Linked DNA regions of Homo sapiens: region 2 is linked to region 1. The links are contacts of gene promoters, found by promoter capture Hi-C in human tissues and cell types (Jung and others, 2019). All regions are on one chromosome and are shown on one strand. The core of a region is centred on a gene start or on the middle of the fragment in contact, and the rest is flanking DNA. Distances in the headings are between cores, read along the strand shown.

Region 1 (7,493 bases), core at 1,876-4,375:
CATTTGCATCTCCTCCCCACTCTTGCCACTCAGGAAAATTAGATCAAACATTTGCAAAGCTGAAGTATTCACAGTTGGAAAATTCAGACTTGTATACATCATTAATACTGCACATTCTAACAGTAATAAGGTTAATGGGTGATTTTGTTTCCAAAATTACAAAGATATTGTTGAAATCATTATTACTACCATAGGTATTATTTATCTTTTCTCTGAAATATTACAATTGACATGATACATCAATGTAAGGTAAGTCACAAATGAAATATATAATGATGTGCTATCAACTCCAAGCTTATATTAAATGCTAATATCTTTGTTTTAAAAGTGAATATTTTAACTTAAGGATCTTAGTAACAAATTGACAATTTTCCAGAAAACAGCATTTCTTTAGCTCTCCCTTAAGGATGTAGACTAGGCCCCCATGCCTCACACGAGCTACTGAGGTAGTGACCCTGGCAATGAAGCCACAGAGATTGTATTTTTAAAATCAGTACAAGAATAGAGGATGTCAAGGATTGGGTTTCACTTGCTCTCAAGTGTTGGCATGTTGTGTGTGTGTGTACATACACACACATAGACACTGAACCTGATCGTAGACCTGGAGGAGAGTTTGAGATGGTTATCTCACTCTACCACTTGATGACAAGTGAGTAAGTAGCCTGAGACTAAGGCAAATTCAAGGACTCTCTCAAGGTCAGACAGGTAGTTTAACTTGCTCACTCGGTTACCCAGAGCAGGGCGATGCTAAGTTTCTTCACTTCTCCATGTCCCAGTGTGCCTGGCCCGTTTGAGATATTACACACATGCTTCCTGCTTAACAACCAGTCTCCTAAAAAAAAGTTCATATTGACATGGGAAGTCTAGCAAATGCTTGAGAGATGAACCATAATTACATTACTTGGATGTGACTTTTCTAAAATGCAAGATATGATTGTTTCCTGTGAAGATGTACATGGACAGAAACAGAATGAGATGCACTTGCTGTACTGTGGTCCACTTTCATGAAAATGGTACCATGTGACTCTAAAGTAGGCAGACTTTAAAACAAAGGAGTGGGCCAGGCACGGTGGCTCACGCCTGTAATCCCAGCACTTTGCGAGGCTAAGGCGGGTGGATCAGCTGAGGTCAGGAGTTCGAGACCAGCCTGACCAACATGGAGAAACCCAATCTCTACTAAAAATACAAAATTAGCTGGGCGTGGTGGCGCATGCTTGTAGTCCCAGCTACTCGGGAAGCTGAGGCAAGAGAATCGCTGGAGCCTGGGGGATGGAGGTTGCAGTGAGCTGAGATCGTGTGATTGCACCCCAGCCTAGGCAACAAGAGCTAAACCCCGCCTCAAAAAACAAACAAACAACAACAAAAAACCCCAACAAACAAACAAAAACAAAGGAGTAAAACACACCTAACCTACTACAAATATATGGATCCAAAAAAGTGCTGACCTCTATGAGAGGCGACACAATGTTGCAATGAATTGTTATTCATCTGAACACCTATCAGACACATTTTAGTTGCGGACAAAATGACCCATCTCTTTTATCCCTGTGCCACAACATTGCTGGAAGCCCACATCTGCAAATGGCAGGGAAGCAACTCTCATTCTACACCCCCCACCCCCTACAGCCAGGACTTCAACATCACTCAATTTTGGCCCTAACCAGTGTGACTAATGATAATTGGTCATTCTCTGGAACTGGCTTCAAACCACCCACTTCATTCACCACTTCATCCACCCCAGTCATTCTTTGGACTTGGCTCCAAACCATTTTTGCTTTATTGAAATAAAGCAAAATACAACAAATTCACCCTAAAAGAATGATGATTTGCTTGTCATTAGAGAAGAAGTAAGTTTTGGGTACAGGTGGCCTTGTTGGCATGACTATGGGGCCTCCTTCCTCTGAGCAGTTAGGGAGGTCTGAGCAAATTGCTCAAGTCGGGCTACTTGTTTTAAATTTAGGTCATTAGATTCACTTTACAGTTGTACCTCAGTTTTGCTGCATGAGAAGCAGTGGTATTTACATCTGCTTAGATTTTCTCCTTAGCTTCCTCATGGATTTAAAGTAAATGAATAAGGAGAGAGGCACCTAATTTCTACCTTGGTTAAAGGGAAGTGAAAGGACAGGCGTCCCGCTCTCCCCAAGACTGGGAATGTGGAGCCTGACCAACATTTCCTGCTGCTTTGCTTGTGATTTCAGGCAAGCACAAGGAAATTGCTGGGAGAAGACACATTTCTTCTTCTTCTTCTTCTTCTTTTTTTGAGATGGAGTTTTGCTCTTGTTGCCCAGGCTGGAGTTCAATGGCGTGATCTTGGCTCACCGCAACCTCTGCCTCTCGGGTTCAAGCGATTCTCCTGCCTCAGCCTCCCGAGTAGCTGCGACTTTAGGCATGCGCCACCACGCTGGGCTGATTTTGTATTTTTGGTAGAGACGGGGTTTCTCCATGTTGGTCAGGCTGGTCTTGAACTCCCGACCTCAGATGATCCACCCGCCTCAGCCTCCCAAAGTGCTGGGATTACAGGTATGAACCACAGCGCCCGGCCAAGAAGACACATTTCTAAACCCAACTCAGCCTTTTGTAGAGTCCAGTTTTCTTTCTACACTTGAGAGGGCCTCAGAAACCCAGAAATTTTGCGGGTATGTGTGTGTGTGTGTGTGTGTGTGTGTGTGTGTGTGTGTGTGTGTGTGTGTGTATGGTCCGTCCGCAGACTCTTCAAGAACTCGAATGCCATTCTCCCTCCTTCGGATGGACAGCGCCCCGCGTGCCCGCACACACCCGGTTCACTTACCTGAGGCATCTGCGGATCGTTGATGTCCCAGCTGAGCTGCATCCCGTAGGAGCACACGCCGACCGCTTCCTGCACCGCGGCCGCCGGCATCTGCCCAACTCGCTCGCGCTTTCCGCCCAGGGTTCTGAAAAATAGAAGAAAAAAGGACAGGTGCGCCAGGTGGGTTTTTTTTCTTCTCTTTAAAGAAGAAAGTGGGGTGTGTGAAGGGGAGGTGCAGAGAGAGAGAAAGAGAGAGAGGCTGTTTAGATATCTGGAAGCTGGGGACAATGGTTATGGACCCGGGCGGGGCCTTGTCCTTGGCCGCGGTGCTGAACGTTCTCCACCCGAACGGCAGCATCGACCTCTGGCAGCTGCCCCCTCCTTTATAAAGATATACCTCCGGGGGGCTCCGCCCTGTCTCGCCTACCTCGCTAGCGCCCACGCTCCAGGGGCCGGTCGCCCCCTCCACCACAGTCCCAGGAACGGAGGTGGAGGTTAAACTCAGCCCTGGAAGCAAATGGAAACTGCAGCCAGAGGGTGGGGGTGGAGAGGGTAAGTAGGAATGTATCCTTTAAGTTTAAAACCTTATTATTTTCTTCTTTTCTTTTCTTCTTTTTTGTCTCACTCTGTTGCCCAGGCTAGAGTGCAGTGGCGCCATCTCAGCTAACTGCAACCTCTGCCTCCCAGGTTCAAGCGATTCTCCTGCCTCAACCTCCCGAGTAGCTGGGAATACAGGTCCGTGCCACCACCCTGGCTAATTTTTGTATTTTTAGTAGAGACAGGTTTTAGCCATGCGAAACCCTGACCAAGCTGGTCTTGAACTCCTGACGATCTGCCCGCCTGGGCCTCCCAAAGTGCTGGGATTACAGGCGTGAGCAACCGCGACCGGCCTATTTTTTTTCTTTTTTCTAAACGCGTCCAGCTTCCCTGATTTCGGAAAGGGGCTTAGATGGAGGCTTTCCAGCAAAGTCCCCTGAGAGCCAACACTCAATTCCAGGAGAGCATGGGAACCGTGCGTGGGCCCCTCTGCCGTCCGCGTGCGCCCTAGCCTGAATAACCGCGCCCACGCCTCCTAGTTAGGGGTCAGCCCATTTTGGGCCTCCACTGCCGGCTCTTCCCCTAACTATTGTGAGTGTCTCGCAGTCTTGGCTCTGCTGTTTGGGACGTGCCAGGGTGCGCCAAGCCTCCGCGTATGCTCGCGAGCCCAGGCGCCTTCACGCTCCCGGGGACTTCGGAGGGACCTGGCCCTGCAGGAACGGAGTCCTACAAAGTGAACCTGGAGGAGGTGGGGGGCGGAAATGAGCCCGGGGTAGGTGGGAGCCTGGGGTAGGTGGGAGCCTGGGGAAGGAGGGAAAGGGGAGAGGGGAAAAGTCCCAAAGAACTCGCTTTCTCCACTGCTTTGGCTCCCTCTGGGTCTCAGCTTCCTTATCTGTTTATCTGTTAAATAAGAGGTTGTGGTTCGGCGAGCTCTCAGTTGCCACCCACCCGAACACAAATCTTTTTTTTTTTTTTTTTTTTTGAGACGGAGTCTCACTCTGTCTTCCCGGCTGGAGTGCAGTGGCGCAATCTCGGCTCACTGCAACCTCCGCCTCCCAGGTTCAAACGATTCTCCTGCCTCAGCCTCCCGAGTAGCTGGAACTACAGGCGCGCCATCGCGACCAGCTAATTTTGTATTGTTAGTAGAGACAGGGTTTTACCAAGTTGGCCAGGATGGTCTCGATTTTTTGACTTCGTGATCCTCCTGTCTCGGCCTCTCAAAGTGCTGGGATTAAAGGCGTGAGCCACCGCGCCCGGCCCACAACTCTTAAAAAAAAACTTCACTGATATAGTCTTGGAAATATCACGACGAAATTGAATTTACTCCATTACAGTCTTGGGAGGCTTTGGAGGACTAGAGAATCGCGGTGGTGCGGAGGTGCGCAGGACAATGTGGGTTCTCCGGGGCTGGGACGAAACCTTCATCATCTGAGCAGCCGACTCGCCCAGGGCTACTCCGGCACATGGAGACCCTCAGTATATATATATATAAAAAAAACAAAAAACAAAAAACAAACAAAACAAAACAAAACCGATTGAAGTGACTAAAGTCACTCTTTGACTACCCCAAGGCCGGATTCTTGGCGGCCAGGGGAAAGGGCTTCTGGAATTTATTGCCCGCGTCCTTGTTTTGCAGCTGCACGCTTCCATTCCCAGCCCCAGCCAGAGAAGAGGAGCCAACTCCTCACGGCAGATCCCTTGATAGAGGAGGATGAACCGAATCCATGACCCTCCAGACCCGGGAAGCGACGCACCCTAGGCCTTGGCACCGCAAAGCCCGTGCTGAGCGCACGGACGGGTGCTGCCCGGGACTCGGCCAGGAGGGCGCCCATGCCAACGCCTCTTGCAGGATTAGTGCCTTCGGTTGGCAAAAGGCGGATAAAGGAAGAGCGAAACCACATCAGGAAGCTAAGGGTGGTCCACGCTCCCTGTCCTTTTACTTCCCGCGCCAAAGGCACAGTGAGGCTTGCTTAGAAAAGTCCATCCCGCGATTGGGCGCAGTGGCTCATGCCTGTAATCCCAGCACTTTGGGAGGCCGAGACGGGAGGATCGCTTGAGCCCAGGAGTGCAAGACCAGACTGGGCAACATGGCGAAACCCTGTCTCTTCGAAAAAAAAAAAAAAAAAAAAAGCCGGGCATGGTGGCGTGTGCCTGTAGTCCCAGCTACTTGGGAGGCTGAGGCGGGAGGATCGCTTGAATCCAGGAGGCAGTGGTTGCAGTAACCTGAGATAGCGCCGAGCCTGGGCGACAGAACGAGACCCTGTCTCAAAAAAAAAAAAAAAAAAAAGGAAGGAAAGAAAGACAGAAAGAAAGAGAGAGAGAGAGAGGAAGGAAGCAAGGAAGGAGAAAGAAAAGAAAAAGAAAAAAAAAAGAAAAGGAAAGAAGAAAGAAAAAGTATCCCAGTCGGTCAGAGAAGCCTGCCAGTGGCAGCGGACCAGCGAACTCTGTTGGGAAGAAAGGCCAACTTCGAGCAGTTCCTCGCGATTTTTTCCTCCTTTATCTTCTAGCTGGGGTCCTCCTCCCAGTCAAAGCCGAAGGGTCCTAGCAGAAGAAAGTGATTTGTTCATTCCCAGCCTCCTTTCTCCCGAAGTTCTCCCCTCCTAAAAGGTCCTGTCAGTCAAGGTTTCTGATTAAAATCACTCTCAAATGGTCGCCACTGAGGTCTAGCTGGGAACGAAGAGATCTGTCTACTCTTCACCCACGAGTTTCATTCACAGATTTTTCATCTTATTAACTGTCTGCCAAAGGTCCCCGAAACTCCTGTTGATTCAGTTGCTTTTCGTGTTGTTTTGTCTTCCAAAATTGAATGAAAATTTATTGATTATCCATTTTAATTATAGTATTTCATTAAATGTTGTAGTCTAAGATAACTTATCCTTTCAAATGTTCTAAAAATAACTTTAAAATGGTGATTTAAAGTTACCTCTGAAAATGCATAGAAATTAATTTTTGGTCTTATTGCAGTGCTAGAATAGTTCTTGTCTCTGTGCTTTTGGAATGTTCCTAGAGAGACCTGACCCGTCAAAAACATAAATAAATAAAACTTTTTTATGTAAAAGGCAAATCAATTAATTTCTAAAGGGATTCTGGTATCCAAAGAAATGTCATAGAGCCTCTACTATATTTAGTTTGAGAAGAATTAGAGTATGCATTTCAAGTTGCCATAAATTATATTAAGACAAAACATGTTAGTAAAAGAAGCTAATCAAAGTAAAAAAAAAACCAGATAAAAGGTATTTTGCCTATTCTGTTATTTTTAATTTCTCTTAAAGATTTGAATGCATTGCACCATAGACTTTGGAAGGACATGTTTTCCCCCAAAGCCTGAAAATAATAGATGATTAAGTTTTCTATCTAATATTATGAAAACTCTAATTTTTAAATATTCTCTTAAAATTCATTTAAACTGTAGTATTTTGTTTATTGCTTCTTATTATTCATTGTTTCTTTCTTGCCCTGGTATTATATTTGTATTGACTCACAATAGCTTATACTCACAGCTGTTCCTGTCTTGATTACTAGTTTAATATTACAAAAGTCCATTCATTGAAAAGGAAAAAAACTTGCGTTTGAATTTCCTTGGTTTAGATTAAAATAGGTAAATTAATGTAAGAATGTTTACATTATACTTTCCAGGAAATTGATATGACAGGCTTTGACATAAACATTGTTTTGAACGGACTAGAAATGTGTGCAAGTCCTGGGCTAACAGGGGTTCTGGTTTTGTTATGTTTTGCTTTGGTGTAGACAAATATCTTCCGTACATATTATGACTTGAAATACTCACAGGTCTAGTTATAATACAAGTTGATTTTTACACAAAGGATGTTTGGATTGGAGGGGTCTTTTTTTTGTTTTTTGTGGAAAACTCTAGTCCAATTTAATTTTGCCACCGTGTTCACACAACTGGCCACCTATCCGAATCAGCCTAGCCATTGGTACGCATACTTGTCAGGTTAAAGGAAATAGGCAAACAAAGAAACAAAAAAACAAAAACAAAAACAAAACTATTTGCTTTGATTAAAAAAAAAAATTCCCCTTCCTCCCCACCACGGTACTTAAAAAACAACCACCAAACACACTTTGTGTGTGTGTGAAATCAGGAATGTATTAATAATATCGGGTACAAGTCTGGTTACCATAGGAAAGGGTTCGGCTTCTGTCTGCACACATCAATGGACCAAAAACT
Region 2 (7,493 bases), core at 1,420-3,919, 570 kb after region 1:
GTTAGGTGGTTGGAGTTCTAATTATAAATGAAAGAGGTCAGACCTCATTATGATAAAAATGCAGTTTTAGCTTCATGATTTCAGCTAGTGCTTTTGATCCAGCTATTAAAAATCCTGCAAAGATTTTAAAGGCAATTTGGTTCATTTAATAGATTGTCTAGACCTGAGCTGACCAGCGGGGTGGCTTTGGGTCATTTAAAACGTGCTGTACATGTAAAAGTCCCAGTTGATTTTGAAGACTAATGAAAAATAAGAAAGCCAAATATTAAAAAATATAACATTTTGTACATATTGGGTTAAATAATATGCTATTATAGTTTTAACTGTTTATTTTTACTTTGATTTTCCTGTGGGGTTTTTTTTCAGTGAAAACCAAAAAACCTGTTAGAAATTCTAACACTAGTCCTTTAGAATTTAGAATTCTGAATTCTAAAAGAGTTGTAACGCTTCTTTTTAGTTTTCAAATGGAGCTACTACATTTAAAATTGCACAGTGACTTGGTTTTGTGGCTCACATTACATTTCTATTAGACAGCACTGGTCCAGAATCCATTTAGTTTTTGACATAAATTAGATCTTTGATAGTCTCAGATTTATTTTCATCCCCAAGGTTCATGACGTTTTGCATACTTCCTAACTGCAGTCTCAGAAGTGAGTCAATTGCAGCGGGTTAGGTGACACTAGCCTGCCTGCCAGCACTCTTGCCTCCAACTCTCTACAAGTTGTCTCCTACACATACCTCAGGTGAAGAGGGAATCATTTATTTCTTTGAGGAAAAGAAGACTCTTCCCTCCAACCAAGCTGATGTTCCAAACTATTTTTTTTTTACATTTGATTTGATTTTTTGAGACAGAGTTTTGCTCTTGTTGTCGCTCTGGAGAGCAACGGCGCAACCTCCACGTCCCAGGTTCGAGTGATTCTCATGCCTCAGCCTCCCAAGTAGCTGGGATTACAGGCATCTGCCACCTTGCGTGGCTAATTTTGTATTTTTAGTAGAGACGGGTTTCACCGTGTTGGCCAGGTTGGTCTCGAACTCCTGACCTCAGGTTATCCACCCGCCTTGGCCTCCCAAAGTGCTGGGATTACAGATGTGAGCCGCCATGTCTGGCCCAAACTATTTTTTTTAACCTAAACTGTAGGATATAGTAAGTAGCAAATTGTCAAATTTAGCAGAGCTTTTCATTATAATATCCATGAGTCTATCAACCATGCTATAAATAAATAGGTGACTTAAAGCCTTAAATGTCTTTCTGAATGCTCTGGCCAGAGCAGAAAATGGAGAGATGACTTCAGCAAATGCTGAATTGCAATTCGACTTTATTCTTAATGAGGCAGATAATTTGTAGTGTGATGAAATACACAGAAAATGCTATGTTCAGTGGACTCAGGAGAGACTTAATAGATAGAAAACTTCTTTTGCTCCTGGAAGCTAAAGGGAAGGAGAAGGGAGACAGAGGAGAGATAAAGGGAAAGACAAGAGGTATCAAAAGACTATATATTCAGGAGATTCTGTTCCAAGATGGCTGAATAGGAACAGCTCCAGTATGCAGCTCCCAGCATGATCGATGCAGAAGACGGGTGATTTCTGCATTTCCAACTGAGGTACCTGGTTCATCTCATTGGGATTTGCTGGACAGTGGATGCAGCCCACGGAGGGTGAGCTGAAGCAGGGCAGGGCATCGCCTCACCCGGGAAGCCCAAGGGGTTGGGGGATTTCCTTTTCCTGGCCAAGGGAAGTTTTCCACATAGCACCTGGAAAACTGGGACATTCCCACCCAAATACTGTGCTTTTCTAACGGTCTTAGCAAATGGCACACCAGATTATATCCTGCACCTGGCTCGGAGGATCCCAAGCCCACAGAGCCTTGCTTACTGCTAGCGCAGCAGTCTGAGATTGACCTGCGAGGCAGCAGCCTGGCAGGGAGAGGGGCATCTGCCATTACTGAGGCTTGAGTAGGTAAAAAAAAGTGGCCGGAGAAGTTCAAACTGGGCGGAGCCCACTGCAGCTTAGCAAGGCCAGCTGCCTCCGTAGTCTCCACCTCTGGGGGCGGGGCATAGCTGAACAAAAAGCAGCAGAAACTTCTGCAGACTTAAACATCCCAGTCTGACAGCTCTGAAGAGAACAGTGGTTCTCCCAGCACAGTGTTTGAGCTCAGAGAACGGACAGACTGCCTCCTCAAGTGGGTCCCTGACCCCCATGTAGCTTAACTGGGAGACATCTTCCCGTAGGGGCCAACTGATACCTCATACATGAGGGTGCCCCTCTGGGACAAAGCTTCCGGGGGAAGGATGAGGCAGCAATATTTGCTATTCTGCAATATTTGCTGTTCTTCAGTCTCCGCTGGTGATACCCAGGCAACCAGGGTCTGGGGTGGACCTCCAGCAAACTCCAACAGACCTGCAGTTGAGGGACCTGACTGTTACAAGGAAAACTAACAAACAGAAAGGAATAGCATCAACATCAACAAAAAGGACATCCACACCAAAACCCCATCTGTAGGTCACCAACATCAAAGACCAAAGGTAGATAAAACCACAAAGATGGGGATAAACCAGAGCAGAAAAGCTGAAAATTGTAAAAGCCAGAGAGCCTCTTCTCCTCCAAAGGATCACAGCTCCTTGCCAGCAATGGAACAAAGCTGGACGGAGAATGACTTTGATGAGCTGACAGAAGTCGGCTTCAGAAGGTTGGTAATAACAAACTTCTCCGAGCTAAAGGAGGATGTTCAAACCCATTGCAAGGAAGCTAAAAACCTTGAAAAAAGATTAGACAAATGGCTAACTAGAATAAACAGTGTAGAGAAGACCTTAAATGACCTGATGGAGCTGAAAACCACGGCACGAGAACTACGTGATGCATGTACAAGCTTCAATAGCCGATTTGAACAAGCAGAAGAAAGGGTATCAGTGATAGAAGATCAAATTAATGAAATAAAGCAACAAGAGAAGTTTAGAGAAAAAAAGTAAAAGGAAATGAACAAAGCCTCCAGGAAATATGAGACTATGTGAAAAGACCAAATCTACTTTTGATTGGTGTACCTGAAAGTGACGGGGAGAATGGAACCAAGTTGGAAAACACTCTTCAGGATATTATCCTGGAAAACTTCCTCAACCTAGCAAGGCAGGCCAACATTCAAATTCAGGAAATACAAAGAACAGCACAAAGATACTCCTTGAGAAGAGCAACACCAAGACACATAATTGTCAGATTCACTAAGGTTGAAATGAAGGAAAAATGTTAAGGGCAGCCAGAGAGAAAGGTCGGGTTACCCACAAAGGAAAGCCCATCAGACTAACAGTGGATCTCTCGGAAGAAAGTCTACAAGCCAGAAGAGAGTGGGGGCCAAGATTCAACATTCTTAAAGAAAAGAATTTTCAACCCAGAATTTCATATCCAGCCAAACTAAGCTTCATAAGTGAAGGAGAAATAAAATCCTTTACAGACAAGCAAATGCTGAGAGATTTTGTCACCACCAGGCCTGCCTTACAGGAGCTCCTGAAGGAAGCACTAAACATGGAAAGGAACAACTGGTACCAGCCACTGCAAAAACATGCCAAATTATAAAGACCATTGATGCTAGGAAGAAACTGCGTCAACTAATGGGCAAAATAAACAGCTAACATCATAATGACAGGATCAAATTCACAAACAATATTAACCTTAAATGTAAATGGGCTACATGCCCCAATTAAAAGACACATACCGTCAAATTGGATAAAGAGTCAAGGCCCATCAGTGTGCTGTATTCAGGAGACCCATCTGACCTGTAGAGACACACACAGTCTCAAAATAAAGGGATGGAGGAAGATCTACCAAGCAAATGGAAAGCAAAAAAAAAAAAAAAAAAAAGCAGGGGTTGTAATCCTAGTCTCTGATAAAACAGACTTTAAACCAACAAAGATCAAAAGAGACAAAGAAGGCCATTACATAATGGTAAAAGGATCAATTCACCAAGAAGAGCTAACTATCCTAAGTGTATATGCACCCAATACAGGAGCACCCAGATTCATAAAACAAGTCCTTAGAGACCTAGAAAGACACTTAGACTCCCACACAATAATAATGGGAGACTTTAACACCCCACTGTCAATATTAGACAGATCAATGAGACAGAAGGTTAACAAGGATATCCAGGTGAACTCAGCTCTGCACCAAGTAGACCTAATAGACATCTACACAACTCTCCACCCCAAATCAACAGAATATACATTCTTCTCAGCACCACATCGCACTTATTCTAAAATTGACCACATAGTTGGAAGTAAAGCACTCCTCAGCAAATGTAAAAGAACAGAAATCACAACAAACTCTCTCTCAGACTACAGTGCAATCAAATTAGAACTCAAGATTAATAAACCCACTCAAAACCACACAACTACATGGAAAGTGAACAACTGCTCCTGAATGACTACTGGGTACATAACGAAATGAAGTCAGACATAAAGATGTTCTTTGAAACTAATGAGAACAAAGACACAACATACCAGAATCTCTGGGACACATTTAGAGCAGTGTGTAGAGGGAAATTTATAGCACTAAATGCCCACAAGAGAAAGCAGGAAAGATCTAAAATTGACACCCTAACATCACAATTAAAGGAACTAGAGAAGCAAGAGCAAACACATTCAAAAGCTAGCAGAAGGCAAGAAATAACTAAGATCAGAGCAGAACTGAAGGAGATAGAGACACAAAAAATCCTTCAAAAAAATCAATGAATCCAGGAGCTGGTTTTTTGAAAAGATTAACAAAATAGATAGACCGCTAGCAAGATGAATAAAGAAGAAAAGAGAGAAGAATCAAATAGATGCAATAAAAAATGATAAAGGGGATATCACCACCAATCCCACAGAAATACAAACTACCATCAGAGAATACTATAAACACCTCTCTGCAAATAAACTAGAAAATCTAGAAGAAATGGATAAATTCCTCGACACATACACCCTCCCAAGACTAAACCAGGAAGAAGTTGAATCTCTGAATAGACCAATAACAGGCTCTGAAATTGAGGCAATAATTAATAGCCTACCACCAAAAAAAGTCCAGGACCAGATGGATTCACAGCCAAATTCTACCAGAGGTAGAAAGAGGAGCTGGTACCATTCCTTCTGAAACTAATCCAGTCAATAGAAAAAGAGGGAATCCTACCTAACTCATTTTATGAGGCCAGCGTCATCCTGATACCAAAGCCTGGCAGAGACACAACAAAAAAAGAGAATTTTAGACTACTATCCCTGATGAATATAGATGTGAAAATCCTCAAAAAAATACTGGCAAACTGAATCCAGCAGCACATCAAAAAGCTTATCCAACAAAATCAAGTTGGATTCATCCCTGGGATGCAAGGCTGGTTCAACATATGCAAATCAGTAAACATAATCCATCACATAAACAGAACCAAGACAAAAACTACATGACTATCTCAATAGATGCCGAAAAGGCTTTTGGCAAAATTTAACAGCACTTCAGCTAAAAACTCTCAATAAACTAGGTATTGATGGAACATATCTCAAAACAATAGGAGCTATTTATGACAAACCCACAGCCAATATCATACTGAATGGACAAAAACTGGAAGCATTCCCTTTGAAAACTGGCACAAGACAAGGATGCCTTCTCTCACCACTCCTACATAGTGTTGGAAGTTCTGGCCAGGGCAATCAGGCAAGAGAAAGAAATAAAGGGTACTTCTTTAGGAAAAGAGGAAGTCAAATTGTCCCTGTTTGCAGATGACATGATTGTATATATAGAAAACCCCATCATCTCAGCCCAAAATCTCCTTAAGCTGATAAGCAACTTCAGCAAAGTCTCAGGTACAAAATCAATGTGCAAAAATCACAAGCATTCCTATACACCAATAACAGAGAGTCAAATCACTAGTGAACTCCCATTCACAATTGTTACAAAGAGAATAAAATACCATGGAATCCAACTTGCAAGGGATGTGAAGGACCTCTTCAAGGAGAACTACAAACCACTGCTCAACAAAATAAAGGAGGACGCAATCAAATGAAAGAACATTCTATGCTCATGGATAGGAAGAATCAATATCATGAAAATGGCCATACTGCCCAAGGTAATTTATAGATTCAATGCCATCCCCATCAAGCTACCAATGACTTACTTTCTTCACAGAATTGGAAACAACGACTTTAAAGTTCATATGAAACCAAAAAGGAGCCCACATTGCCAAGACAATCCTAAGCAAAAAGGACAAAGCTGGAGGCATCACACTACCTGACTTCAAACTATACTACAAGGCTACAGTAACCAAAACAGCATGGTACTGGTACCAAAACAGATGTATAGACCAATGGAACAGAACAGAGACCTCAGAAATAACACCACACATCTACAACCATCTGATCTTTGACAAACCTGACAAAAACAAGCAATGGGGAAAGGATTGCCTATTTAATAAATGGTGCTGGGAAAACTGGTTAGCCATATGTAGAAAGCTGAAACTGGATCCCTTCTTTACACCTTATACAAAAATTAATTCAAGATGGATTAAAGACTTAAATGTTAGACCTAAAACCATAAAAACCCTAGAAGAAAACCTAGGCAATACCATTCAGGACATAGGCATGGGCAAAGACTTCATGACTGAAACACCAAAAGCAATGGCAACAAAAGCCAAAATAGACAAATGGGATCTAATTAAACTAAGGAGCTTCTGCGCGGCAAAAGAAATTACCATCAGAGTGAACAGGCAACCTACAGAATGTGAGAAAATTTTTGCAATCTACCCATCTGACAAAGGGCTGATATCCAGAATCAACAGACTTAAACAAATTTACAAGAAATAAACGACCCCATCAAAAAGTGGGCAAAGGATATGAACAGACACTTCTCAAAAGAAGACATTTATGCAGCCAACAGACACATAAAAAATGCTCAAAATCACTGGTCATCAGAGAAATGCAAATCAAAACCACACTGAGATACCATCTCACACCAGTTAGAATGACAATCATTAAAAAGTCAGGAAACAACAGATGCTGGAGAGGATGTAGAGAAATAGGAAAGGTTTTACACTGTTGGTGGGAGTGTAAACTAATTCAACCATTGTGGAAGACTGTGGCAATTCCTCAAGGATCTAAAACTAGAAATATCATTTGACCCAGCAATCCCATTACTGGGTATATGCCCAAAGGATTATAAATCATGCTACTATAAAGACATATGCACACGTATGTCTATTGCGGCACTATTCACAATAGCAAAAACTTGGAACCAACCCAAATGTCCATCAATGATAGACTAGATTAAGAAAATGTGGCACATATACACCATGGAATACTATGCAGCCATAAAAAAGCATGAGTTCATGTCCTTTGCAAGGACATGGATGCAGCTGGAAACCATCATTCTGAGCAAACTGTCACAAGAACAGAAAACTAAACACCGCATGTTCTCACTCATAGGTGGGAATTGAACAATGAGCACACTTGGACACAGGGTGGGGAACATCACACCCGGGGGGCCTGTCG

Evidence for each region. Contacts are between HindIII fragments. The study calls those that stand out against the background at their distance.
Region 2: a fragment that was not itself captured here is called in contact with the fragment with the promoter of GCM2 in region 1 in 1 of the 25 tissues and cell types used here (dorsolateral prefrontal cortex).

What each region holds. Positions count from the first base shown.
Region 1 is chr6:10,878,916-10,886,408 of GRCh38, forward strand. GCM2 (glial cells missing transcription factor 2) reads right to left here and starts at 3,126. Exons shown (of 5, transcript NM_004752.4): 1 at 2,789-3,126. The coding sequence starts at 2,878. RefSeq lists a silencer at 3,021-3,315 and an enhancer at 7,304-7,493. The HindIII fragment of the contact is 12,545 bases long and covers 1-7,493 here.
Region 2 is chr6:11,450,303-11,457,795 of GRCh38, forward strand. All of the region lies in intron 1 of LOC105374928 (a long non-coding RNA gene), which reads left to right. Among named protein-coding and RNA genes, the nearest start is that of TMEM170B, 84 kb to the right of the region's middle. The HindIII fragment of the contact is 3,371 bases long and covers 985-4,355 here.